7 separate regions of the Homo sapiens genome follow, and all the other regions are linked to region 1. Evidence: promoter capture Hi-C in human tissues and cell types (Jung and others, 2019). All regions are on one chromosome and are shown on one strand. Each heading gives the region's core, a stretch centred on a gene start or on the middle of the fragment in contact. The rest is flanking DNA. Distances are from core to core; before and after follow the strand shown.

Region 1 (3,361 bases), core at 514-3,013:
GAGGCAGGCAGATCACAAGGTCAGGAGACCGAGACCATCCTGGCTAACACTAAACATACAAAAATACAAAAAATACAAAAAATTAGCCGGGCGTGGTAGCGGGCGCCTGTAGTCCCAGCTACTCGGGAGGCTGAGGCAGGAGAATGGCGTGAACCCGGAAGGCGGAGCTTGCAGTGAGCCGAGATCGTGCCACTGCACTGCAGCCTGGGCAACAAGAGCGAGACTCCGTCTCAAAAAAAAAAAAAAAGTTTTATCACTAGATCATTAACCTCTGGCCTAGGTCACCTCCGGCCTCCTTTTGGGCTAGGTGGGCAGTTCTCGGACCCTCCCCCACCAGCCCTGCTCTGCTGACCTAGAACCTCTGGCCCTGGAGATTCTGATATGTGTATTTGTGGTCTCTTCTCGGGCATCTCCCAGGCCACTGGGAGAGCTGGGGCCTAGAGCGTGGGGTGGGTGGAATCCTGAGGGCAGAGAGTGTGGAAGAATCTTACAATGGCAGCTCTAGAGGGAAGCCTGGATATGTTTGTTTGACAAACTGAGACCCAGAGAGGTAACATGACTTGAGGTCACACAGCAAGTCTAGGGCACAGTCAGGACTGAAAGCCAGGACTCTGGGGAGGCTAAAGCGCCCTGAGGTTTAGACCATCTGGTTCATGTAGAGAATGGAGAGGGTCAGGGCTGGGAGCTATGGGTTCAAATCCTGGCTCTGCCATTGACTGTACTTTTGTGACCTAAGAAAGTCACTTGAGCTCTCTGAGTCTGTTTCCTCAACTGTTAAACGGGACAATATCTACCTTTTGGGTTGTTGTGAAGATAAAAAAACACACCCATAGCACAGGTCGTGGCACACAGTAAGTGTGCCAATACATGTCAGCTAGTGGTATGGTGGTGCAATAGTAGGTGCCTAATAAATGTTGAATGCATTGTTGAACATGAGTTCACACGCTAACAGTGAGATTGTGAGACTCAGCTTTCCCACGTGTAAATCAGGACTCATAATCAGTCCCTGTCCTGCCACTTCTTTACAGCCCCGGTAGCAACATAGATTAAATAAGGTATGTAAACGTTCAAGCGCGGAGCCGTCTCAGGTCAATGTTTACTCAGCCCAGGGCAATTCCTCTCCAAGTCCTACTCTGCGAAATTTCACGTCAGCTTCACTAACTTCTCTACATTCCCAGATGCTCCCCGGGAACCGGGGGTTGGGGATGTCCCTCTTTTCTCAAGCCCGCCGAGCTGAGGAAAAACGGGGTGGGAAAGCAGAGTGTGTAAGGCTGAGGAGGTGAGCCAGAGGGGGGAGGGAGAGCAGGAATAAGGGCAGTGGGGAGAATGCAGGTGCACGGACGTGGTGTGGGTCGAGAACAGGGTCCGCATCGGGGGACTTGGATATAGGATGCAGTGAAAGGATTTGGGGAGCAGTGGGAGAGGTGAGGGCGCTGCGATCCGGGAAGAATCAGGAAAATAAGGAGCCGGTAGGAGGGAGTGGAGATCCTCCTCGCGGAGAGCTCGCCGCGGCGCAGGGCTCCCAGCTCCCCGCAGCTGCCTCCCCGAACACTCACCCTCCCGGTTCCGAGAACGTTTCCCGGCCCGAGCGCCCGGCCCGCAAACCGGGAGGGGAGGGGAGGGGAGGGGCAGGGGGGGATCCGCAGCCCGGGATTGGCCGCCGCCCCGCCAGCCGGTGACGCGAGGCGGGCGGGCCCCTTTGTGACGTCACAATCAGCTGTTTGAACGTTCCAATTTGTGCCGTGAGCCCCGCCGCAGCGGCCGCACAGACTCAAAGCCCCGCGGGCGAGCTCAGCAGCCCGGAGCGACCGCGGCCCCGCCGCCTCCCCCGCGAGTCCCGGCGATGCGGCCCGGCCTGTGAGCGGCCGGCGACCCTGGGACGCCCCGCCGCACAACTACCTCAACGCCGTGCCGCCCCCCTCCCGCCCCCAGGTGAGTCCCGACCCGGGTGGGCCTGGGGGCTCCCCTGCCACGGACACGCCCTGCGCCCCCCGCGCCCGGGCCTTTGTCTGTCTCCGCCGGCGGCCGCCGGGGCCGCGTTCCCGGCTCCCGATTGGTTGCCGCACGCCCGGTAGACCATGACGTCGTTCTATTTGCATATGACATTGAGACGTCACCAAGGCCGGTACCGCCCCCACAGGCTCGGGTCGCTTGTCCTCCCGTGACCCGGTAGCCGCTGTGTCGGGGCTGGGCCCTGGGTGAGACGCTGCAATCCAAAGGGGGCTGCAGGGGGATCGGCGATTTCCTAGGCTTATCCAGGGGCTGGGGTCAGGCCTCTGATCCCCTACTTTCTCTTTGCAACCTGAGAAGGAGTCAGACGGCGCTGCTGGGCCTAGGTTGAGGGGGTCGTCAGGAGTTCAGGGCTGCATGGGACTCCAGGTGGTTGGGACAGCACCAGATGGTGGTGGGATCCCCTCCCTCCGGCTCCAGACTCCGCCCCCAGGGACTAACAGAATAACATCCTCCTAATCCCTGATTTGTGTGCAGCGCCTTAGCTGATGTCACTCCTAGACCCAAAATGAAGGGTCTTAGACCCCAGTGCATGGAAGGGGCAACAGGCCCAGAGAGGAGGATTAGCTCTCTCGAGGTCACATAACCAATTAGAGTCATGCTCACTGAGTGACAGATGGATTATTAGCCAGGGGCAAAGACATAATAGGGGCTCAGTACAAGTGGTAAGATACACATCCTCCTTCCACTGGGGACCCGATCTTGGGCTCAGCCTTATCACGGTTTGATAGGCTCCTAGGTGTCCTTACTCCTGGACCCTTTTCCAGGGAATCTCTGGAGATTGGTTCACCTTTTGTGGTCCTGACCCCTTCTGTCCTCACTGTACCTTGAAGTCCTAGAGTCCAATAAAATCGCTGCCTCCCAGCTGTTTGGATCACAGAGAGGTGAGTCATTGGCTGCCTCGGGGTGTCTCCAGGGCTGATGTTGGGGTGGAGGGTGGGGTGAGGGTTCCCTCTATTGGCCCTTTACCTTCCCAACTTCCTAGGTCGTCAGCTAGGAAGGGCCTGACCTGGCCTAGTGCAGACAATTGCAGGTGTTTTGCTGCTCCCTCGTCACCTCTGCCCACAGAGAGTATAGGAGAAGGGATAGGATAAGGAGAGTTTCTGACTTAACAAGTGGATGGGCCTAGAGGCTGAACCAGGAACTCCATTCCTGCTGGGAGTTTGCTCAAGGATGGGCTGGGGGTAGGGGTGGCTTAGGGCACAAATGCTATTCTGGGCAGAGCTGCTGTAGTTATTAAAGGGAATGGTTCTCCCTGGAGCAGAACTGGGAATGTGAGAACCAGGAAGCTGGCAGGGCTGGGAAAGGAAATCTGGGAGGCTCCCCAAGTGGTCAGGAGAGGGGGCAGGCA
Region 2 (3,361 bases), core at 377-2,876, 500 kb before region 1:
TTCATGCCTCTCATCTTCCCCAAGATTGCCTTGGCTATTCTTTTTTTTTTTTTTTTTTTTTTTTCGAGATGGAGTCTTGCTCTGTTGCCCAGGCTGGAGTGCAGCGGCATGATCTCGGCTCACTGCAAGCTCCGCCTCCCAGGTTCACGCCATTCTCCTGCCTCAGCCTCCCGAGTAGCTGGGACCACAGGCGCCCGCCACTACGCCCGGCTAATTTTTTGTATTTTTAGTAGCGACGGGGTTTCACCGCGTTAGCCAGGATGGTGTCAATCTCCTGACCTCATGATCTGCCTGCCTCGGCCTCCCAAAGTGCTGGGATTACAGGCGTGAGCCTTGGCTATTCTTGAACTTCTATATTTCCACATAAACTTTAGGATAACTTTATAAATTCTACCAAAAAAAACCCTGCTGGAATTTTTATTGGGATTACATTAAATCTGTCCATCAATTAATATGAAAGTCTTTACAATATTAAATTTTTTTATCCATGAATATGGTATATCCCTTCACTAGTTGAAGTCTTATTAAAATTTTTTGATGTTTTATAGTTTTCTATGTAGAAACCTGGTATATTATTCATTGGATTTATTCCCAATTATTTTCTATTTATTTTATAAGTGGCATATATATATGTATATTATATATATATTTTTTGAGACACGGTTTCACTCTGTCACTCAAGCTGGAGTGCAGTGGCATGATTTTGGCACACTGCAACCTCTGCCTCCTGGGTTCAAGTGATTCTCATGCCTCAGCCTCCCAAGGAGCTGGGATTACAGGCACCTGCCACCACACGTGGCTAATCTTTGCATTATTGTAGAGACAGGGTTTCGCCACGTTGGCCTGGCTGGTCTCGAACGCCTAACTTCAAGTGATCCTCCCACCTCGGCCTCCCAAAGTGCTGAGATTACAGGCATGAGCCAATGCACCCAGCCTTATAAGTGGCGTATTTTAATTTTATTTATTTATTTATTTTTTGAGATGGAGTTTCGCTCTTTTTTGCCCAGGCTGGAGTGCAATGGCACGATCCTGCCTCACTGCAACCTCTGCCTCCTAGGTTCAAGCAATTTTCCTGCCTTAGCCTCCCAAGTAGCTGGGATTACAGGCACACGCCACCATACCCGGCTAATTTTGTATTTTTAGTAGAGATGGGGTTGTTTCACCATGTTGGCCAGGCTGGTCTCGAACTCCTGACCTCAGGTGATCCACCTGCCTTGGCCTCAAAGTTCTGGGATTACAGGCGTGAGCCACCACGCCCGGCCATAAATGGCATATTTTAATGTTCATTTTTAGTTGTTTGATGCTGGCATATTGACATAATAATTAAAATTTTGTATTTATACTTGCATACAGCAACCCTGCTTAATTAACTTAATAATTCTTATAGTTTATTTATAGATTCACAATCATGTAGTATGTGTAGTGTGTGTAGTGATTTCTTTCAGATAGTTATTTTTTTAATTTTTTTTTTTTTTTGAGACGGAGTTTTGCACTTGTTGTCCAGGCTGGAGTGCAATGGTGCAATCTTGGCTCGCCGCAACCTCCGCCTCGTGGGTTAAAGCGATTCTCCTGCCTCAGCCTTCCGAGTAGCTGGGATTATAGGCACACGCCACCATGCTGGCTAATTTTGTATTTTTAGTAAAAATGGGGTTTCTCCATGTTGGTTAGGCTGATCTTGAACTCCTGACCTCAGGTGATCTACCCACTTTGGCCTCCCAAAGTGCTGGGATTACAGGTGTGAGCCACTGCTCCTGGCCCGTTTTTTAACTTCTTTTTCTTGAATTATTGGACTGGGTAAAACCTTAAGAACAATGATGAATAAAAGTGAAAATAGCAGGCATCCTTATCTTAGTTCTGATAGAAAGAAAGCACTCAATAATTTCAGTTAAATATGATGGTTGCTGGAGTTTACTTTTTGTAGTTACTCTTTATCAGATTGAGGAATTTTTCTTCTAATTCTAGTTTGATATAATTTTTAAACATTAACAGATGGTGAATTTTATGAAATGTATTTTTCTCATCAGTTAAAATGAGCCTGTGATTTTTACACTTTATTCATTTTATTTATTTTCTATTTTTATGGATAGGTAATAGTTGTACAATTTATGTGGTACATGTGATACTTTGATACAAGCATATAATGTGTAATGATCAAATCAGGATAATGGAATATCCATCACCTCAAGCATTTATCATTTATTTGTGTTGGGAACATTCCAAATCTACTCTTCTAGTTATTTTGAAAGGTACAATAAATTATACTTAATTATACTCACCCTATTGTGCTACCAAGTACAAGTGTGCCTGGAATTGGTGGGTTCTTGGTCTCGCTGACTTCAAGAATGAAGCCATGGACCCTCACGGTGAGTGTTACAGTTCTTAAAGATGGTGTGTCCGGAGTTTGTTCCTTCAGTTGTTCAGATGTGTCCGGAGTTTCTTCCTTCTGGTGGGTTCGTGGTCTTGCCGACTTCAGGAGTGAAGCTGCAGACCTTCACAGTGAGTGTTACAGCTCTTAAAGGCATCACGTCCAGAGCTGTTCATTCCTCCCAATGGGTTTGTGGTCTCACTGGCTTCAGGAGTGAAGCTGCAGACCTTCGTGGTGAGTGTTACAGCTCATAGAGGCGGCGCATCCGGAGTTGTTCATTCCTCCCGCTGGGCTCGTGGTCTCGCTGGCTTCAGGAGTGAAGCTGCAGACCTTCTCGGTGAGTGTTACAGCTTATAAAGGTAGTGCAGACCCAAAGGGTGAGCAGCAGCAAGATTTATTGCGAAGAGCGAAAGAACAAAGCTTCCACAGCGTGGAAGGGGACCCAAACGGGTTGCTGCTACTGGCTCTGGTTGCCTGCTTTTATTCCCTTATTTGGCCCCACCCACATCCTGTCGCTTGGTCTATTTTACAGAGCGCTGATTTCTCCATTTTACAGAGCGCTGATTTTGCCGTTTTACAGAGTGCTGATTGGTGCTTTTACAATCCTTTAGCTAGACACAGAGTGTTGATTGGTGCATTTACAATACTTTAGCTAGACAAAAAAGTTCTCCAAGTCCCCACCCAATTAGCTAGACACAGAGCGCTGATTGGTGCATTTACAAACCTTTAGCTAGACACAGAGTGCTGATTGGTGCATTTACAATCCTTTAGCTAGACAGAAAAGTTCTCCAAGTCCCCACCCAACCCAGAAGCCCAGCCAGCTTCACCTCTCACAAGGTCTTATTTCTTCTATTCTAATTGTATTTTGTTTTGTTTTGATTTTTGAGACAGAGTCTTGCTCTGTCACCCAGGCTGGAGTGCAGTGGCACCATCTCACCTCACTGCAACCTCTGCCTCCCAGGTTCAAGCAATTCTCCTGCCTCAGTCTCCCAAGTA
Region 3 (3,361 bases), core at 424-2,923, 480 kb before region 1:
TGACCTCAAGTGATCCACCCGCCTCAGCCTCCTAAAGTGCTAGGATTATAGGAATGAGCCACTGCACTCAGCCTGATTTTTTAAAAAGTCTTAACAAACTAATAATAGAAAGGAACTTCCTCAGTCTGATAAAGCTCATCTACAAAAAATCTACAGCTAACTTACATACTTAATTTTTTTTTATGTTTTATAGAGATGGGGTCTTGCTATGTTGACCAGGCTGGTCTTGAACTCCTGGCCTCAAGTGATCCTCCCATCTTGGCCTCCCCAAAATGCTTGGATTGCAGGTGTGAGCCACCACACCTGGCCCCATACTTGATTAAAGACCAAATGTTTTCTTCTACAATAAGGAACAAGGCAAGGATGTCTGCTCTCACATCTTCTATTGAACTCTCTACTGGACATTCCAGTTAATTCAGTAAGGCAAGAACAAGGAATAAAAAACAATAAGCTTGGAAATGAAACAGTAAAACTATTTATTTGCAAAAGACATGATTGTTTATGTAAAAAATCCAATGAAGTCCTTAAAAAGTCTGCTAGAACTAATAAATGAGTTTAGCAAGTTTGAAGCATACAAGATTAATATACAGAAACTAGTTTATTTCTATATTGTAGCAAAGACAATACAAATTGACGTGTTAAAAAATGCCATTTATAATGGTACCAAAAATATTAAATTTTTAATGATAAATCTGTGCAAGACTCATATACTGAAACCATAAGACATTAATGAGAGAAATTAATACTTAAATAAGTAAAGAGATATACCAGGCTGGGCACAGTGGCTCACACCTGTAATCCTAGTACTTAGGGAGGCCGAGGCAGGCGGATCACGAGGTCAAGAGATCGAGACCATCCTGGCCAACATGGTGAAACCCCATCTCTACTAAAAATACAAAAATTAGCTGGGCATGATGGTGCACACCTGCAGTCCCAGCTACTCGGGAGGCTAAGGCAGGAGAATCACTTGAACCCAGGAGGTGGAGGTTGCAGTGAGCCGAGATTGTGCCACTGCACTCCAGCCTGGTGACAGAGTGAGGCTCCATCTCAAAAAAAAAAAAAAAAAGAGATATACCATATTCGTGGATCAGAGGACTCAATATTGTTCTGATGTCAGTTCTCCCCAGGTTTATCAATAGATTCAACACAACTCCAATCAAACTCCCAGTAGGTTTTAGTAGAAGTTGACAAGTTTATTCTAAAATTCATGTGGAAATACAAAGGACTTAGAGTAATCACAACTTCAAAAAAGAACAGTTTGAAGACTTCACTCTCCCTGACTTCCAGACTTGGAGAATAATCAAAACAGTGTAGTATTGCTATAAAGATAGACAAGTCAGTAGTTCAGAATAGAGAGTCTAGGAATAGACTCACACATGTATGGTCAAGTGATTTCCCACAAGGTACAAAATATAATCTTTTCAGCAAATGGTACTGGAACAGTTAGCCATATGCAATAAAATGAACTTCAATTCATAACTTCACACCATATAAAAATTAATTCAAAATGGACTGTAGACATAAATGTAAAATCTAACACTATAGAACTTTCTTTTTTTTTTTTTTTTTTTTTTTTTTTTTTTTTTTTTTTTTTTTTTTTTTTTTTTTTTTTCCTGATTAATTTTTATTTATTTTTTTTATTTTTTCCTTTGGAAACTACTTTATTTTTTATTTATTTTTTTTTTGAACATATGTATTTGTCAATATATTTTTGGCTGATGTGTTTACACAGGAAAAAATAATATTTACATACTCAAACCTCAGTTCAACATTTTAACAAAACAACATGCAGAAAAGTCTTCACTTCCTTTCTAAATACAAATGCTAGAATGTCGGAATCACACGTGGATGTTTTGAAAAGCGTGCTGAGCCTCCTCAAGGGTCATGGAGCTGCACATGCTACGACACCAAAGCAACTGGGTTTTGTTGGTTTTGTGGCAGTTGCTTATTAATATGTAATTTACATTCAGTAAAATCTGCCTTTTATTTTTTTTTTATTTTTTATTTTTAAATTTATTTTTTTATTGATAATTCTTGGGTGTTTCTCACAGAGGGGGATTTGGCAGGGTCATGGGACAATAGTGGAGGGAAGGTCAGCAGATAAACAAGTGAACAAAGGTCTCTGGTTTTCCTAGGCAGAGGACCCTGCGGCCTTCCGCAGTGTTTGTGTCCCTGATTACTTGAGATTAGGGAGTGGTGATGACTCTTAACGAGCATGCTGCCTTCAAGCATCTGTTTAACAAAGCACATCTTGCACCGCCCTTAATCCATTTAACCCTGAGTGGACACAGCACATGTTTCAGAGAGCACAGGGTTGGGGGTAAGGTCACAGATCAACAGGATCCCAAGGCAGAGGAATTTTTCTTAGTGCAGAACAAAATGAAAAGTCTCCCATGTCTACTTCTTTCTACACAGACACGGCAACCATCCGATTTCTCAATCTTTTCCCCACCTTTCCCGCCTTTCTATTCCACAAAGCCGCCATTGTCATCCTGGCCCGTTCTCAATGAGCTGTTGGGCACACCTCCCAGACGGGGTGGTGGCTGGGCAGAGGGGCTCCTCACTTCCCAGTAGGGGCGGCCGGGCAGAGGCGCCCCTCACCTCCCGGACGGGGCGGCTGGCCGGGCGGGGGGCCGACACCCCCACCTCCCTCCCGGACGGGGCGGCTGGCCGGGCGGGGGGCCGACACCCCCACCTCCCTCCCGGACGGGGCGGCTGGCCGGGCGGGGGGCTGACCCCCACACCTCCCTCCCGGACGGGGCGGCTGGCCGGGCAGAGGGGCTCCTCACTTCCCAGTAGGGGCGGCCGGGCAGAGGCGCCCCTCACCTCCCAGACGGGGCGGCTGGCCGGGCGGAGGGCTGACCCCCCCACCTCCCTCCCGGACAGGGCGGCTGGCCGGGCGGGGGGCTGACCCCCCAACCTCCCTCCCGGACGGGGCGGCTGGCCGGGCAGAGGGGCTCCTCACTTCCCAGTAGGGGCGGCCGGGCAGAGGTGCCCCTCACCTCCCAGACGGGGCGGCTGGCCGGGCGGAGGGCTGACCCCCCCACCTCCCTCCCGGACGGGGCGGCTGGCCGGGCGGGGGGCTGACCCCCCCACCTCCCTCCCGGACGGGGCGGCTGGCCGGGCAGAGGGGCTCCTCACTTCCCAGTAGGGGTGGCCGGGCAGAGGCGCCCCTCACCTCCCAGACGGGGCGGCTGGCCAGGCGGAGGGCTGACCCCCCCACCTCCCTCCCGGACGGGGCGGCTGGCCGGGTGGGGGGCTGACCCCCCCATCTCCCTCCCGGACGGGGTGGCTGGCCGGGCTGAGGGGCTCCTCACTTCCCAGTAGGGGCGGCCGGGCAGAGGCACCCCTCACCTCCCGG
Region 4 (3,361 bases), core at 459-2,958, 450 kb before region 1:
TCCTGGGTCTAACTTAATCTTCCCCAAACTCCTGCCACCTTTTTCTTTCTTCCTTTCTTTTCTTTTTTGGTATGATCACAGCTCACTGGAGCCTCAACCTCCCAGGTTCAAGCAATCCTCCCTCCCACCTCACCCTCCCAAGAGGCTGGGACCACAGGTGTGTACTATCACACCTGTGGGTGGCAAGCCACGCAGGTGCCAAGGCAAGAGACCGAGGGCACAAGCTGCTCCAGTATAATAAAGAAAATATATAGAATAAGAATAGTTATACTAGAAATAGATTATAGATGTGATTATATATGAATATCATTAATCATTAGTTTGTAGCATTACTCTTTATTCCAATATTATAATAATCTTTGTTCTACAATTATAACCTAGGAAAAACCAGGCCATACAGAGATAGGAGCTGAAGGGACACGGTGAGCAAGTGACCAGAAGACAAGAGTGTGAGCCCTCTGTTACGCCCGGACAGGGCCACTAGAGGGCTTCCTGGTCTAGCAGTAATGCCAGCACCTGGGAAGGCACCCATTACCTAGTGGACCTTGGTCTAGTGGTAGCATCAGTGCTCGGGAAGGCACCGGTTACTTAGCAGACCGAGAAAGGGAGTCTCCCTTTCCCCGGGGGAGTTAGAGAAGACTCTGCTCCACCACCTCTTGTGGAAGGCCTGACATCAGTCAGGCCCACCCGCAGCCTCCAGAGGCCTGACCATCTCCCTGTGATGCTGTGCTTCAGCGGTCACGCTCCTGGTCCGCTTTCATGTTCCACCCCGTACACCTGGCTCCGCCTTCTAGAGAGTGGTAGCAGAATTAGTAAAAGTACTAAAGTCTTTGAAATGCATAGAAGAAATAATGGCATAAACTGTCCTCTCTCTCCGCCTCGGCTGCCAAACAGGGAAGGGCCTCCTGTCTGGTGGACACGTGACTTGTGTAACCTTATCTATCACTGGAGATGGCTCACACTCCTTACCCTGCCCCCTTGTCTTGTATCCAATAAATAACAGCACAGCCAGGCATTCGGGGCCATTACTGGTCTCTGTGCCTTGGTGGTAGTGGTCCCCCGGACCCAGCTGTATTTTATTCTGTCTCTTTGTCTTGTGTCTTTATTTCTACGATCTCTCGTCTCCACACATGAGGAGAAAAAACCCACAGACCCAGTAGGGCTGGACCCGATAACACCCGGCTAATTTTTTAAAAATTTTTTGTAGAGATGAGGTCTCTCTATGTTGCCAGGCTGGTCTCAAATTCCTAAGATCAAGGAATCCTCCTCCTGTGGCTTCCTCCAGTGCTGGGATTATAGGCGTGAGCCACCATGCCTGGCCTCTTTTTCTAGCTCAGATTTTCCGGCCACTCTCACTTCTTTGTAGAAATTCCCATTACAGTTTTTGGCCCATGAGTATATTATTTATGGTAAGGAAAACCCAAAGACACAAAATAACTACACGTACCGCCTCCTAATTTATAACATGCCTCTTGTAACTTGCCTTAATCGAGCTCATTTGTTTTTGTTTTTGAGATAGAGTCTCACTGTGTTGCCCAGGCTGGGTAACAGTGCAGTGGTACAATCACAGCTCACTGTAGCCTCAACTTCCTGGGGTCAGGTGATTCTCCCACCTCAGCCACCCGAGTAGCTGGGAACACAGTCTTGTGCCGCCACTCCCTGCTAAGAGCCTTTTGTTAATCAGAGCTTCCCACCACATTCCACCACATCTCCATCCTTTACTTTCCTTGTTTTTTAAAGTTGAATTTCTTTCTTTCTTTTTCTTTCTTTCTCTCTCTCTTTCTTTCTCTTTTTTTTTTTTGTTTTTTGTTTTTTGTTTTTTGAGACAGTTTCCCTCTTTCACCCAGGCTGGAGTGAAGTGGTACGATCTCAGCTCACTGCAACTTCCTCCCCCTGGGTTCAGGCGATTCTCCTGCCTCAGCCTCCTGAGTAGGTGGATTTATAGGCATCTACTCAGGAGGCCACCACCTGGTTAATTTTTGTATTTTTAGTAGAAACGGGGTTTCACCATGTTGGCCAGGTCGAACTCCTGACCCCAAGTGATCCATTCGCTTCAGCCTCCCAAAGTGCTGGGATTATAGGCGTGAGCCACCAGCCCAGCCGGGTTGAATTTATTTCTAATTTGCCTTCCTAATTAATACCCATTAAAGCTAGATGCTGTTATTTGAAAAATGGTCTTTTTAGCAACAATCAGAAGCTAAAAATTAAAAACAATATTGCTTTTGGAAGAGATCAATGATACAGAATAAAAATTTTAAATATATATTTAATTTTATGTAACTAAAATATTATCTAGTTTACAAATATTTCATATTTCTATTCCAAATGTTACTGTATTGAATCTTTATGAATTCTAGACAGCATGATATAATAATAAGTTTCAAAACATTATGATAACTATTCATGATGTAATTTTTCCTCTGCCTCCACAATCCAAGTTTACCAGTCCTAGCTCTTGTCTCATTAGGACCCAGTCCTGTACTAAAACAAATCTGAAGTCTGATAAATTAATGAGAAATATTATTGGCACATTAGCCTTTTAATAAAGGTCATCAATATCTTTTCCTGAAGAAATAGTTGGGCTGGGTGCGGTGGCTCACACCTGTAACCCCAGCACTTTGGGAAGCCAAGGCAGGCAGATCACTTGAGGTCAGGAGTTTGAGATCAGCTTGGCCAACATGGTGAAACCTTGTCTCTACAAAAAATACAAAAATTAGCTGGGCGTGGTGGCAAGCACCTGTAGTCCCAGCTACTCAGGAGGCTGAGGCAGGAGAATTGCTTGAATCCGGGAGGCAGAGGTTGCAGTAAGCCAAGATCGCACCACTGCACTCCATCCTGGGCAACAGAGTGAGATTCCATCTTAAAAAAAAAAAGAGAGAAAGAAAGAAAAGAAATAGTTAAGTGCTCCATCGGTTAGTAGATATTGATGGAGCAAACATGATGTTCTTATTCCAATCCATCATGATTCTTACAATCTAGACGGAGTTGGCAAACTTTTTCTGTAAAAGGCCAGATAATAAATATTTTATGCTTTGTGGAACACATAGGGTCTCCGTTGGATATTCTTTTTTTTTTTTTAATAGAATCATTTAAAAATGTAAAAACCATTCTTATCTCCAGACTGGATAAATGCCATATGAAATGTGAGAAGGGCAAATAAGTACTGTAGTCACTCATTTGGGCTTTGATGACCATTAACAAATGATAAGTAAATAAATGTTTGTATAGCAAGCTAAGCACTGCGATCAGTGGGAAAGGACAAGCATCATATGGGGACCAGGAAGTAGCCAAGCTTGGATGGAATTTATTACTTCCTGTGAGAAAATATAAAGCTGGAAATCATGGTGGAGAGCCCCTGTCA
Region 5 (3,361 bases), core at 464-2,963, 420 kb after region 1:
CTGGCATGTGAAAGACATTCAAGAAATATCTGTGAGACTAAGCAGGACTGCTTTGTTAAGGAGTCCCAGGTTTGAATATAGGGCTATGGGACTCTGGATTCCCCTTAAAATCTATTTTAGTGTCTCACAAAACTTTTCGCTAAACTCACCTTTTCAAAGTCACCTATTCAAACAGATCAAAGATCTCCACTGTGGGAGGAATGCCAAGGGCCGGGGTCAAGATCCCAAGGAACTAATTCTAGCTCTACCTCTACTAGCTGTGAGATCTTTAGCAAGGCACTTAGCTTCTCTGTTCTTTGGTCTCCCCATCTGTAAAATATGAGCATTATGTATATCTCCAAGGTCCCTTCTAGTGCTGATATGTCAGAACTCCCAAAGCTCTACCCTTAAAGAGGCTTTTTAGCAGCAAGGGGAGACTCTTCCCAGTTCTTGGGGCCATGCAAACACTTACTGTTGCAAATCCGCACTCCACCTTGCTGATTTTTTCAATGGATTCCACAGCATCTCTTCCGAGTTCTAGGAGGGTGGGATCCCCCGTGGCACGGTAGAGGTACATTGCGCTTTCAATAAGTTCTGCAAAGTCCAAAGCAGACCCTCCTCACTCAGTGGCTGCACAGAGATGGCCTGGGGCCTCTTAGGGCCGTGAGGGACTACTCCCCTCCATATCTTGTCCATAAGGCCCCAACTAGCAGGAACACAGGATACCTCACCCAGTGCTGAGTTTCAGAGCCAGTATACCCAAAGCTTGAAGCTCAGTGGAGACCAGCATTAAGGCTGACCAGTGACTTCCACCACAAGGGAGAGAAAGGTGGCCAGGTTCTGGCATAGAGAAGGTGGCGGAGGTTGTTGCCTAATTCCCAATATCTGTTCCCCGCTTCCTCCTTAGTAGCAGGATTCCTAACTTTAGCTAAGCACAGGCTGCCTGGCTGCCAACACTAACTATTCTAACAGCTAGGTGGGATTAAGGACACCATGGCGAGCCATATAAGCCCAGAACATGAGAGAGAAATACATTTCTATCCTAATTAAGCTACTATTTTTTTTCCTGTCACTCAGAGTCTAACCTAATTCTAAAACTCAAAAGAAGAGTAAGAGCTTGGCATCATAAGGCTCGTTCTAAGATAGGATGGACCAAAAGAAAAGGCTGAGATATCCAAGAGCAGGCCAGGCATGGTGGGTGGCTCATGCCTGTAATCCCAGCACTTTGGGAGGCCAAGGTGAGAGGATCGTTTGAACCCAGGAGTTTGAGACCAGCCTGGGCAACATGGCGAGATCTTGTCTCTACAAAAATTAAAAATGATTAGCTGGGTGTGGCATGCACCTGTAGTCCTAGCTACTCAGGAGGCTGAGGTAGGAGGATCACTTGAGCCCAGGAGTTTGAGGCTGCAGTGAGCCATGATTAAGCCACTGCGGCACTCCAGCCTGGATGACAAGAGTGAGACCTTATCTCAAAAAATAAAAATTAAAAAAATAAAATAAAATAAACCACCAAACCGTCAATCTAACAAAGACGTAGTCATCAGTTCACTGTGGCCAGAAAAAGTGATGTTTTGTCTTGCCCAATTCTATGCCACAACTGGAACTTGATGTTAAGACATGAGCTCTACCTTAAGATGAATATTAGCCAACAGGAGTGGGTCCAGATGAGAATATTTATTCTAGAGATAAGGAAATCCAAAAAAAATGTGTTTATTGCTTTCAAATACCTGAAGAACTGTTGTAGAGTTGACTTCAAGGGTGGCCTCAGCTCAGTATGTTTTTCTACTTCATCCATCTTTTCTAAGAGACAGAAGAACCCCTGTCTCCTTTCTATACCATCATCTCCCCCTGACCTTCTCCTGTCCTGTTTCCTCCTGGGCTTGATCAGTGCTTCTGTCCCTTTTGGCTTATTGCTGCAAACTCTGGTTCTTATTTTATTCCGTTAATTACTTTTTTGTGACAGAGTCTCACTCTGTCACCCAGGCTGGAGTGCCATGGTGCGATCTCCGCTCACTGCAACTCTGCCTCCTGGGTTCAAGGGATTCTCATGCCTCAACCTCCCAAGTAGCTGGAATTACAGGCATGCGCCACCAGCCCTGACTAATTTTTGTATTTTTAGTGGAGACAGGGTTTCGCCATGTTGGCCAGGCTGGTCTCAAACTCCTGACCTCAAGTCATCCGCCAGTCTTGGCTTCCTGAAGTGTTGAGATAACAGGCGTGAGTCACTGCACCCAGCCTCTAGTTCTTATTTTAGAGAAAAGGTCTCTGCCTATCTCCCCAGTTCTCTCTTACTTCCTCCTCCCCTCTCCTCACAGGCCTCTAGACAATTGCTAATCTAATTGCTCATATTCTAAGGCACAGACTAGGGTACATTCATTACTAGATGAACACATTCTGTGTGTTCAAAGGCAGAAAAGACAGTGCCCTCATGGGAGGCCTCCTCTTCTGCTTCTTTTTTCGGCTTCTTCTTTTTTTTTTTTTTTTTTTTTTGAGAGGGAGTTTTGCTGTGTTACCCAGGCTAGAGTGCAATGGCATGATCTTGGCTCACTGCAACCTCTGCCTCCCAGGTTCAAGCAATTCTCCTGTCTCAGCCTCCTGAGTAGCTGGGACTACAGGCACATGCCACCGTGCCCGGCTAATTTTTGTATTTTTAGTAGAGACAGGGTTTCGCCATATTGGTCAGGCTGGTCTCGAACTCCTGACCTCAGTTGATCCACCGCCTTGGCCTCCCAAAGTGCTGGGATTACAGGCGTGAGCCACCACACCCAGCCCTCTTCTGCTTCTAGCAGCTGGTGGGCCAGTGCCCTCATGACCAGCCATCACGCTTCTCTCCTCACATGTGGGCCTCCTAAGCATGTTAGTTATTGCTTTACTTTCCTGTGCATCTGACCAACTCTGTCGAGCAGTGGTCCCCAACCGTTTTGGCACCAGGGACCAGTTTCATGGAAGACAATTTTTCCATGAACTGGGCTTGTAGGAGATGGTTTTGGGATAATTCATGTGCATTACATTTATTGTGCACTTTATTTATATTATTATTACATTGTAATATATAATGAAATAATTATACAATCCACCATAATGTAGAGTCAGTGGGAGCCCTGAGTTTGTTTTCCTGCAACTAGACAGCCCTATCTGGGGTTGATGGATGACAGTGACAGATCATCAGGCATCAGCTTCTCCTAAGGAGCACACAACCTAGATCCCTCACATATGCAGTTCACAATAGGGTTTGTGCTCCTATGAACGTCTAATGCCACCACGGATAAGACAAGAGGCGGAGCTCAGGCAGCAATGTGAGCGATGAGGAGCAGCTATAAATATAGATGAAGCTTTGCTTGCTCACACGCAGCTCACCTCCTGCTGTGTGGCCTGGTTTCTA
Region 6 (3,361 bases), core at 489-2,988, 380 kb before region 1:
CAGGGGATTACTGTGAGAATTGAGTGAGATAAAGACCCAAAGTGCAGGATATCCAGCCCACGACCTATGTTCAGTGGGTATCACTGTTGTTGGAACAGGTCATCATACTAAGCTCTGACCAGTGTGGTTCACTGCCCCAGGCCATTGCCTGTTTGTATGTGTGTTATGAAACCTGGAGAGGTGTTCAAGGATATGTGTTCGAATGGGTCCATGTGCACATGCCATGGGAGCTGAGCTTGAGGGAATGAATGAGTGTGTGTATGTGTTTGTCAGTGTGAGTGGGTGTGTAAGTGGAAACTTGGGCAGGGGTTTACATACATGAGGGCACATGCAGTGCTATTGTCAGAGACGTGTGAACCAGAGGGACTCCATCTTAAAGAGGAAATGGGTAAAATGAGAGGCTGAGACCTGCTGGGCTGCATTCCCAGATGGTTTAAGGCATTCTTTTTTTTTTTTTTTTTTTTTTTTGAGGTGGAGTTTCTCTTTTGTCACCCAGGCTGGAGTGCAATGGCGTGATCTCGGCTCACTACAACTCCACCTCCCAGGTTCAAGCGATTCTCCTGCCTCAGCCTCCCAAGTAACTGGGATTACAGGTGTGCACCACCACGCTTGGCTAATTTTTTGTACTTTTAGTACAGACTGGGGGTCTCACCATGTTGGCCAGCCTGGTCTCGAACTCCTGACCTCAGGTGATCTGCCTGCTTTGGCCTCACAAAGTGCTGGGATTACAGGTGTGAGCCACCGTGATTGGCAGGTTTAAAGCATTCTAAGTCACAGAATAACATAGGAGATCTGCACAAAATGCAGGTCATAAATACCTTGCTAATAAAACAGGTTGCAGTAAAGAAGCCACCAAAACCCACCAAAGCCAAGATGGCCACGAGAGTAACCTCTGGTCGTCCTCACTGCTACATTCCCACTGCAGCCATGACAGTTTACAAATGCCTTTGCAATGTTAGGAGGTTATCCTATAAGGTCTAAAAGGGGAGGGATGAATCATCCACCCCTTGTTTAGCATATAATCAAGAAATAACCATAAAAATGGGCAACCAGCGGCCATTGGGGCTGCTCTGCCTATGGAGTAGTCATTCTTTTATTCTTTTACTTTCCTAATAAACTTGTTTTCACTTTATGGGCTTGCCCTGAATTTTTTCTTGCGTGAGATCAAAGAACCCTCTTTGGGGTCTGGATCGGGACCCCTTTCCTGTAACACTATGGATGTCTGTGAGTGTGTGGGACAGAGGAGTGAGACCTTGAGGTCAAGTGTAAGCATGTGTGTCTACAACTGTGCATAATTAGGACTGTGTGTGGGTAAGTTAGCTGGTGAGGGTTATAAGAATATGAGATATGGCCAAGCATGTGTGTTAGATTGAGTGTGTATGTGTGTATGAGTGTTATGTGTTTTCCAGAAGGTGCTTGTCCATGCCTGATACTTGCAAAAAATGAGAAAATGTCGAAACAAAGAACACTTTCAGAGCTTTACAGAGATGTTCAAAGCAAATGAACCTCTGGGTACTGTGACCAGCTGGGAAGATGAGGCGAGCCAGGTGGAGGGGTGTGGAGAAAAGCTTTTCTGAAGTTCCTAATCTCACTCAGGCAAGGAGCCAGGGACCCTATTAGGGTCAAGTGCTTCCCACGCACAGTTGCCTTCTTAGTTTAGATGACAGCTGCACATCTGGGCCTTCTTCCTCCTCATCCCCATCATAATTAGTGGTTAATTCGTTCATTCATACAACAAACATTTACTCAGTACTGACTTTTAAGTGAAGTTTAGCCTAAACCTGACTCCTCACATATTTTGAAGTTCAGCCTAAAGGTTTCTCTGTACATTGTGAACTATAACCTAAATGGAATTGTAAACAGACTGCAGCCTACTCTTGTGCCAGTCACCGAGTTTTGCCAATCAGGTGTGGCCAGCTATTCAAACCGTGTTCAAATAAGACAAAAACGCCATGCTATAACCAATCTGGTTGTTTCTACAGAAACAACATTTTCCTTTTTCTGTTCATAAATCTTCTTCCACCACGTGGCTGTGTCATAGGCTATACTCATAGGTCGAACCAGAGCAACACCATCTTGAATAGGGGCTGGGTAAAATAAGGCTGAGACCCTGCTGAGCTGCATTCCAGGAAGTTAGGCATTCTAAGTCACAGGATGAGATAGGTCAGCATAAGATACAGGTTACAAAGACCTTGCTGATAAAACAGGATACAGTAAAGAAGCCAGCCAAAACCCACCAAAAACCAAGATGACATGAAAGTGCCCTCTGGTCGTCCTCACTGTTCATTATACGCTAATTATAATGCATTAGCATGCTAAGAAACAGTCTCGCCAGTGCCACGACAGTTTACAGATGCATGGCAACAGCTGGAAGTTACTCTATAAGGGAAGGAAACTTCACTTCCAGGAATTGCACAACCCTTTCCCAGGAAACTCATGAATAATCCACCCTTTGTTTAGCATATGGTCAAGAAATAATGATAAGTATAATCAGTTGAGCAGCCCATGCTGCTGCTCTGCCTATGGAGTAGCCACTCTTTTATTCCTTTACTTTCTTTTTTTTTTTTCTGAGACAAGTCTTACTCTGTCGCTCAGGCGGGAGTGCAGTGGCGCGATCTCGGCTCACTGCAACCTCTGCCCCACAGGTTCAAGCAATTCTCCTGCCTCAGCCTCCTGAGTAGCTGTGATTACAGGTGCATGCCACCACGGCTGGATAATTTTTTGTATTTTTAGTGGAGACGGGCTTTCGCTGTGTTAGCCAGGATGGTCTTAATCTCCTGACCTCTTGATCCGCCTGCCTCAGCCTCCCAAAGTGCTGGGATTACAGGCGTGAGCCACCGCACCCGGCCCTATTCCTTTACTTTCTTAATAAACTTTTCACTTTGTGGACTTGCCCTGAATTCTTTGTTGCGTGAGGTCCAAGAACCGTCTCTTGGAGTCTAGCTAGATTAGGACCCCTTTCCAGTGACAGCTGCGTGGGAGTCTCTGAGCCTACACTGGCTTGGGAGGCTGCCCATTCTTTGCTCAATTAAACTCTTTTACGTTTAATTCAGCTAGTTTTTCTTTTAACACTACTAAGGGCCAGGAACTGTGCTACAGCAGTGAGCGAAGCCCTGTCCTTGAGGAGCTAATGTCCTAGAGGGGGGATATATATATATATAAACATTACACAGTTATTCTACACATATATAAACATTACATAGTTATACTGCACATGTATAAACATTACATATATAAATGTATATTACATATATAATATATATAAAAACATATCTATCTACACACACATAAAGATATTTGTGTATAGATATACACAAATATGGTGGAACTCAGTGGCTCATGCCTGTAATCCCAGCACTTT
Region 7 (3,361 bases), core at 238-2,737, 350 kb after region 1:
TGAAAGTACAAGGCATCCTTTACAGACACTGAAAAGCAGTTTCACCTCTGAAAACTGGCATGAGTCAACAAAACAGGAATGGCATGGCTTAACTGTGGGAAACGCTCGTTAACTCCCCAGCTATGGAAGAAAAAAGTCTCCTGACGTGCAGGCTACACAAGTGGGAACTCACTTGTGAGAACATAACACAATGAGATGGTATTTCCTAAAATAACTTATCTCAGAGTTCTGAAGGCCATTCTTAAATCTGAAATCAAACAGTGCCGAAGCATGGACTTAAGAGTCAGACCTAAGTTCTAATTCCAGCTGTGTGATCCTGAGCAAATCACTTCTCACCTTTGGAACTCCATTTTTTTCATCAGTAAAATGATCATCTTAAAAGTCTTTGAGGCCAGGCGTGGTGGCTCACACCTGTAACCCCAGCACTTTGGGAGGCCAAGGTGGGCAGATCACTTGAGGCCAGGAGTTCGAGACCAGCCTGGCCAACGTGCCAAAACCCTGTCTACTGAAAATATAAATATTAGCTGGGTGTGGTGGTGCATGCCTGTAGTCCTAGCTACTCAGGAGGCTGAGGTAAAAGGATCATTTGAGCCCAGAAGGTGGAGGCTGCAGTGAGCCTAGACTGTGCAAATGCACTCTAGCCTTGGCAACAGAGGGAGACCCTAACTCAAAAAAAAAAACAAAACAAAAAAACCAACAACAACAAAAAAACAAAACCCCCAAGGGGTATGAAGGAAGTTAAGGAAACTAGCTGGTAAAAGACCTTAAAACTTAGGTTCAAGAGTTTGGATTTAAAACTGCAGTATTGTCAAGTGCAGTGGCTCACACCTGTAATCCCAGCTACCCCGGAGGCTGAGGTGAGAGGACCGCTTGAGGCCAGGAGTGTGAGGCCGCAGTGAGCTACAATCTGTCTCACCACTGCATTCCAGCATGGGGACAGAGTGAAACCCTATCTCTAAAAAGAAAGAAACTGCAGTACTGCTATAGCTTACACACACACACACACACACACACACACACACACACATATATATCCCACCCCTACTGCCTTAAGGCAACTAGAGCTTAGTGACTTTAATATTTCTTTTTTTTAGCCTCTAAGCTGAAAAAATTCCAAGGTTTACTGCGATAAACTTGACTTCTCCTTAAAAAGTATAATCAAGAGTGCAGACACACACAGTTTGGTAAATGGGAACCCCAAGCTAGGAGGCATTTCAGAATCAGTGAAATGAGATATGTTGCAACAAATTTAATTTTCTTTCTTTTAATTTTAGAGACAGGGTCTCACTCTGTTGCCCAGGCTGAGGCCATGACTATTCACAAGTACGAATATAGCTCACTACAGCCTCAATCACCTGGGCTCAAGCGATCCCCCCACCTCAGCCTCCTGAATCACTGGGACTACAGGCGTGCACCACCGCACCTGGCAAATTTAATTTTCAAAGTGAAGGCATCAATAAAGATGTGCCACGTATATAAATCTTTGACGATCACATTAAATAGGACACTAAAGAAAGCAATCTCCATCTGTATTAATACATTTCGGTTCTTCAGTCGTAGCACTGACACATTAAAAAAAAAAAAAAAAAAGGTTGTTATTCCCGAACTACATACAGTACCTACACTGGCTATGATATGTGAAACAGGACTGACTCTAGTTTTACTGACAAGCAAAAGTTCTGGAAGATCCAAAGAAACAGAACAAAAAGAGAACTAAATTTACACTTTCTCAAAGCTTAAAAATCTATCTCCAGGCTGTCAAATACACAACCCTGCTGCTCTAACTAGCTACCCTTGACTACCCACCTTTCTCCTCTCTTCAATTTATCAAAGTGCTACTCCTTTTACAGACTGACTAAAATGACTCCTCTTGGAAAACCTTCCCAAGTCAACAGTGGCCACCCAAAAGGCCATCACAATCCTTCCTTTCCTCTATATCACAAGTTCTTAACTGAGGCCAAAAAGCACTAAAACAATATATAAAAGGTTGTATGCAACTACATTTTTCGGGGGAGAGTTTTTTCCATGTAACATTCATCATAGGTTTTTTTTTGGTTTTTTTTTTTTTTTGGAGACAGGGTCTCACTCTATAGCCCAGGCTGAGTGAGTACACTGGCACAATCATGGCTCACCGCAGCCTTAACCTCTCAGGCTCAAGCAATCCTCCCACCTCAGCCTCCTGAGGAGCTGGGACTATGGTATATAACACCACGTCCAGCCAGTTTTTTATTTTTTGTAGAGACAGGTTCTATGTTGCCCAGGCTGGTCTTGAACTCCTGGACACACACAATTCTCCTGCCTCGGCCTATCAAAGTGTTGAGATTATAGGTGTGAGCCACTGCGCCCAGCCTAATCATAAGCTCTTGACCTAGTATCTGTCAAGTATCTAAATGAGGAGCTACAAACTAGCATCCAGTAGGCCAAGCTTTTTCTGGTGAGCAGTACTGTTTATTTTTTTATCTTTTATTTTTTGAGAGACCCTCACTCTGTCACCCACGCTGGAGTGCAGTGGTGCAATCTCAGCTCACTGCAACCTCTGCCTGCTGGGTTCAAGTGATTCTCTTGCCTCTCCTGAGTAGCTGGGACTATAGGCATGTACCACCACACCTGGCTAATTTTTGTGTTTTTAGTACAGACGGGGTTTCACCATGTTGGCCAGGCTGGTCTGGAACTCCTGACCTCAAGTGATCCACCCGCCTCAGCCTCCCAAATTGCTGGGATTACAGGTGATAGCCACCGTGCCCGGCCAACAGTACTTTTTAAACTTTTGAATTCAAACATCTTTAGACAGGACATACTTGCTCCAGTTTAGTCACAGTTTACACAAGTCCCCACTCCAACACCAGCAATTCCAAACATTTCCTGTTTTCTGCCTGATCCCTGGAGGCATTGGTGTTTGCAACCCTGAGAGCCCCAGGTTCTCTACATTAACATGGAATTCAGCCAGATAGCACATAATTGAACCATATCGCCCTATGTTCCTCAAATTTTTTAAAAAATTTTATTTAAAAATACTTTTAGTTGATATATAATAAAGGTACATAATTTCAGGGAGCATATAATTTAATACATTCGTATAATTTATAAAAATCAAATCAATGTACTTGGGATAGCCATCAGCTTAAATACTTGTCTTTTCTTTATGCTAAGAACCATTCAAATTCTCTTCTAGCTATTTTGAAATGTAAAACAGAACAGAATATTATAAACTAAGTCACCCTTACTGATTTATCTAACACTAGGTCTTATTTATCATCCCATATATTTGTACCCATTAATCAACTTCTCTTCATACATTTCATTTTTTTAACTTAACTGTTTTATTGGAATGTCACTGATTAACATTAGGTATCATGATTTT

The links. Contacts are between HindIII fragments. The study calls those that stand out against the background at their distance.
Region 2: a fragment that was not itself captured here is called in contact with the fragment with the promoter of TP53INP2 in region 1 in 4 of the 25 tissues and cell types used here (IMR-90 fibroblasts, lymphoblastoid cells, mesenchymal stem cells and 1 more).
Region 3: a contact is called between a fragment that was not itself captured here and the fragment with the promoter of TP53INP2 in region 1, in 2 of the 25 tissues and cell types used here (IMR-90 fibroblasts and lymphoblastoid cells).
Region 4: a contact is called between a fragment that was not itself captured here and the fragment with the promoter of TP53INP2 in region 1, in 1 of the 25 tissues and cell types used here (lymphoblastoid cells).
Region 5: a contact is called between a fragment that was not itself captured here and the fragment with the promoter of TP53INP2 in region 1, in 1 of the 25 tissues and cell types used here (spleen).
Region 6: a fragment that was not itself captured here is called in contact with the fragment with the promoter of TP53INP2 in region 1 in 6 of the 25 tissues and cell types used here (IMR-90 fibroblasts, bladder, hippocampus and 3 more).
Region 7: a fragment that was not itself captured here is called in contact with the fragment with the promoter of TP53INP2 in region 1 in 2 of the 25 tissues and cell types used here (aorta and dorsolateral prefrontal cortex).

What each region holds. Positions count from the first base shown.
Region 1 is chr20:34,702,581-34,705,941 of GRCh38, forward strand. It overlaps TP53INP2 (tumor protein p53 inducible nuclear protein 2), which reads left to right and starts at 1,764. Exons shown (of 5, transcript NM_021202.3): 1 at 1,764-1,932; 2 at 2,778-2,894. LOC105372599 (a long non-coding RNA gene) reads right to left here and starts at 1,602. Exons shown (of 2, transcript XR_936690.3): 1 at 1,557-1,602; 2 at 1,079-1,233. RefSeq lists a silencer at 1,560-2,039. The HindIII fragment of the contact is 10,895 bases long and covers 1-3,361 here.
Region 2 is chr20:34,202,762-34,206,122 of GRCh38, forward strand. It overlaps a transcript of ASIP not described here. Among named protein-coding and RNA genes, the nearest start is that of ASIP, 37 kb to the right of the region's middle. The HindIII fragment of the contact is 6,854 bases long and covers 1-3,361 here.
Region 3 is chr20:34,226,581-34,229,941 of GRCh38, forward strand. It overlaps a transcript of ASIP not described here. Among named protein-coding and RNA genes, the nearest start is that of ASIP, 13 kb to the right of the region's middle. The HindIII fragment of the contact is 4,655 bases long and covers 1-3,361 here.
Region 4 is chr20:34,255,282-34,258,642 of GRCh38, forward strand. The region is part of intron 1 of ASIP (agouti signaling protein); the gene reads left to right. It also overlaps a transcript of AHCY not described here. Among named protein-coding and RNA genes, the nearest start is that of ASIP, 16 kb to the left of the region's middle. RefSeq lists an enhancer at 608-787. The HindIII fragment of the contact is 9,204 bases long and covers 1-3,361 here.
Region 5 is chr20:35,118,147-35,121,507 of GRCh38, forward strand. It overlaps MMP24-AS1-EDEM2 (MMP24-AS1-EDEM2 readthrough), which reads right to left. Exons shown (of 15, transcript NM_001355008.2): 14 at 452-573. It overlaps EDEM2 (ER degradation enhancing alpha-mannosidase like protein 2), which reads right to left. Exons shown (of 11, transcript NM_018217.3): 10 at 452-573. Among named protein-coding and RNA genes, the nearest start is that of TRPC4AP, 27 kb to the left of the region's middle. The HindIII fragment of the contact is 4,711 bases long and covers 1-3,361 here.
Region 6 is chr20:34,320,862-34,324,222 of GRCh38, forward strand. No RefSeq gene overlaps it. Among named protein-coding and RNA genes, the nearest start is that of AHCY, 19 kb to the left of the region's middle. The HindIII fragment of the contact is 4,210 bases long and covers 1-3,361 here.
Region 7 is chr20:35,050,044-35,053,404 of GRCh38, forward strand. The region is part of intron 5 of TRPC4AP (transient receptor potential cation channel subfamily C member 4 associated protein); the gene reads right to left. Among named protein-coding and RNA genes, the nearest start is that of TRPC4AP, 41 kb to the right of the region's middle. The HindIII fragment of the contact is 3,382 bases long and covers 1-3,178 here.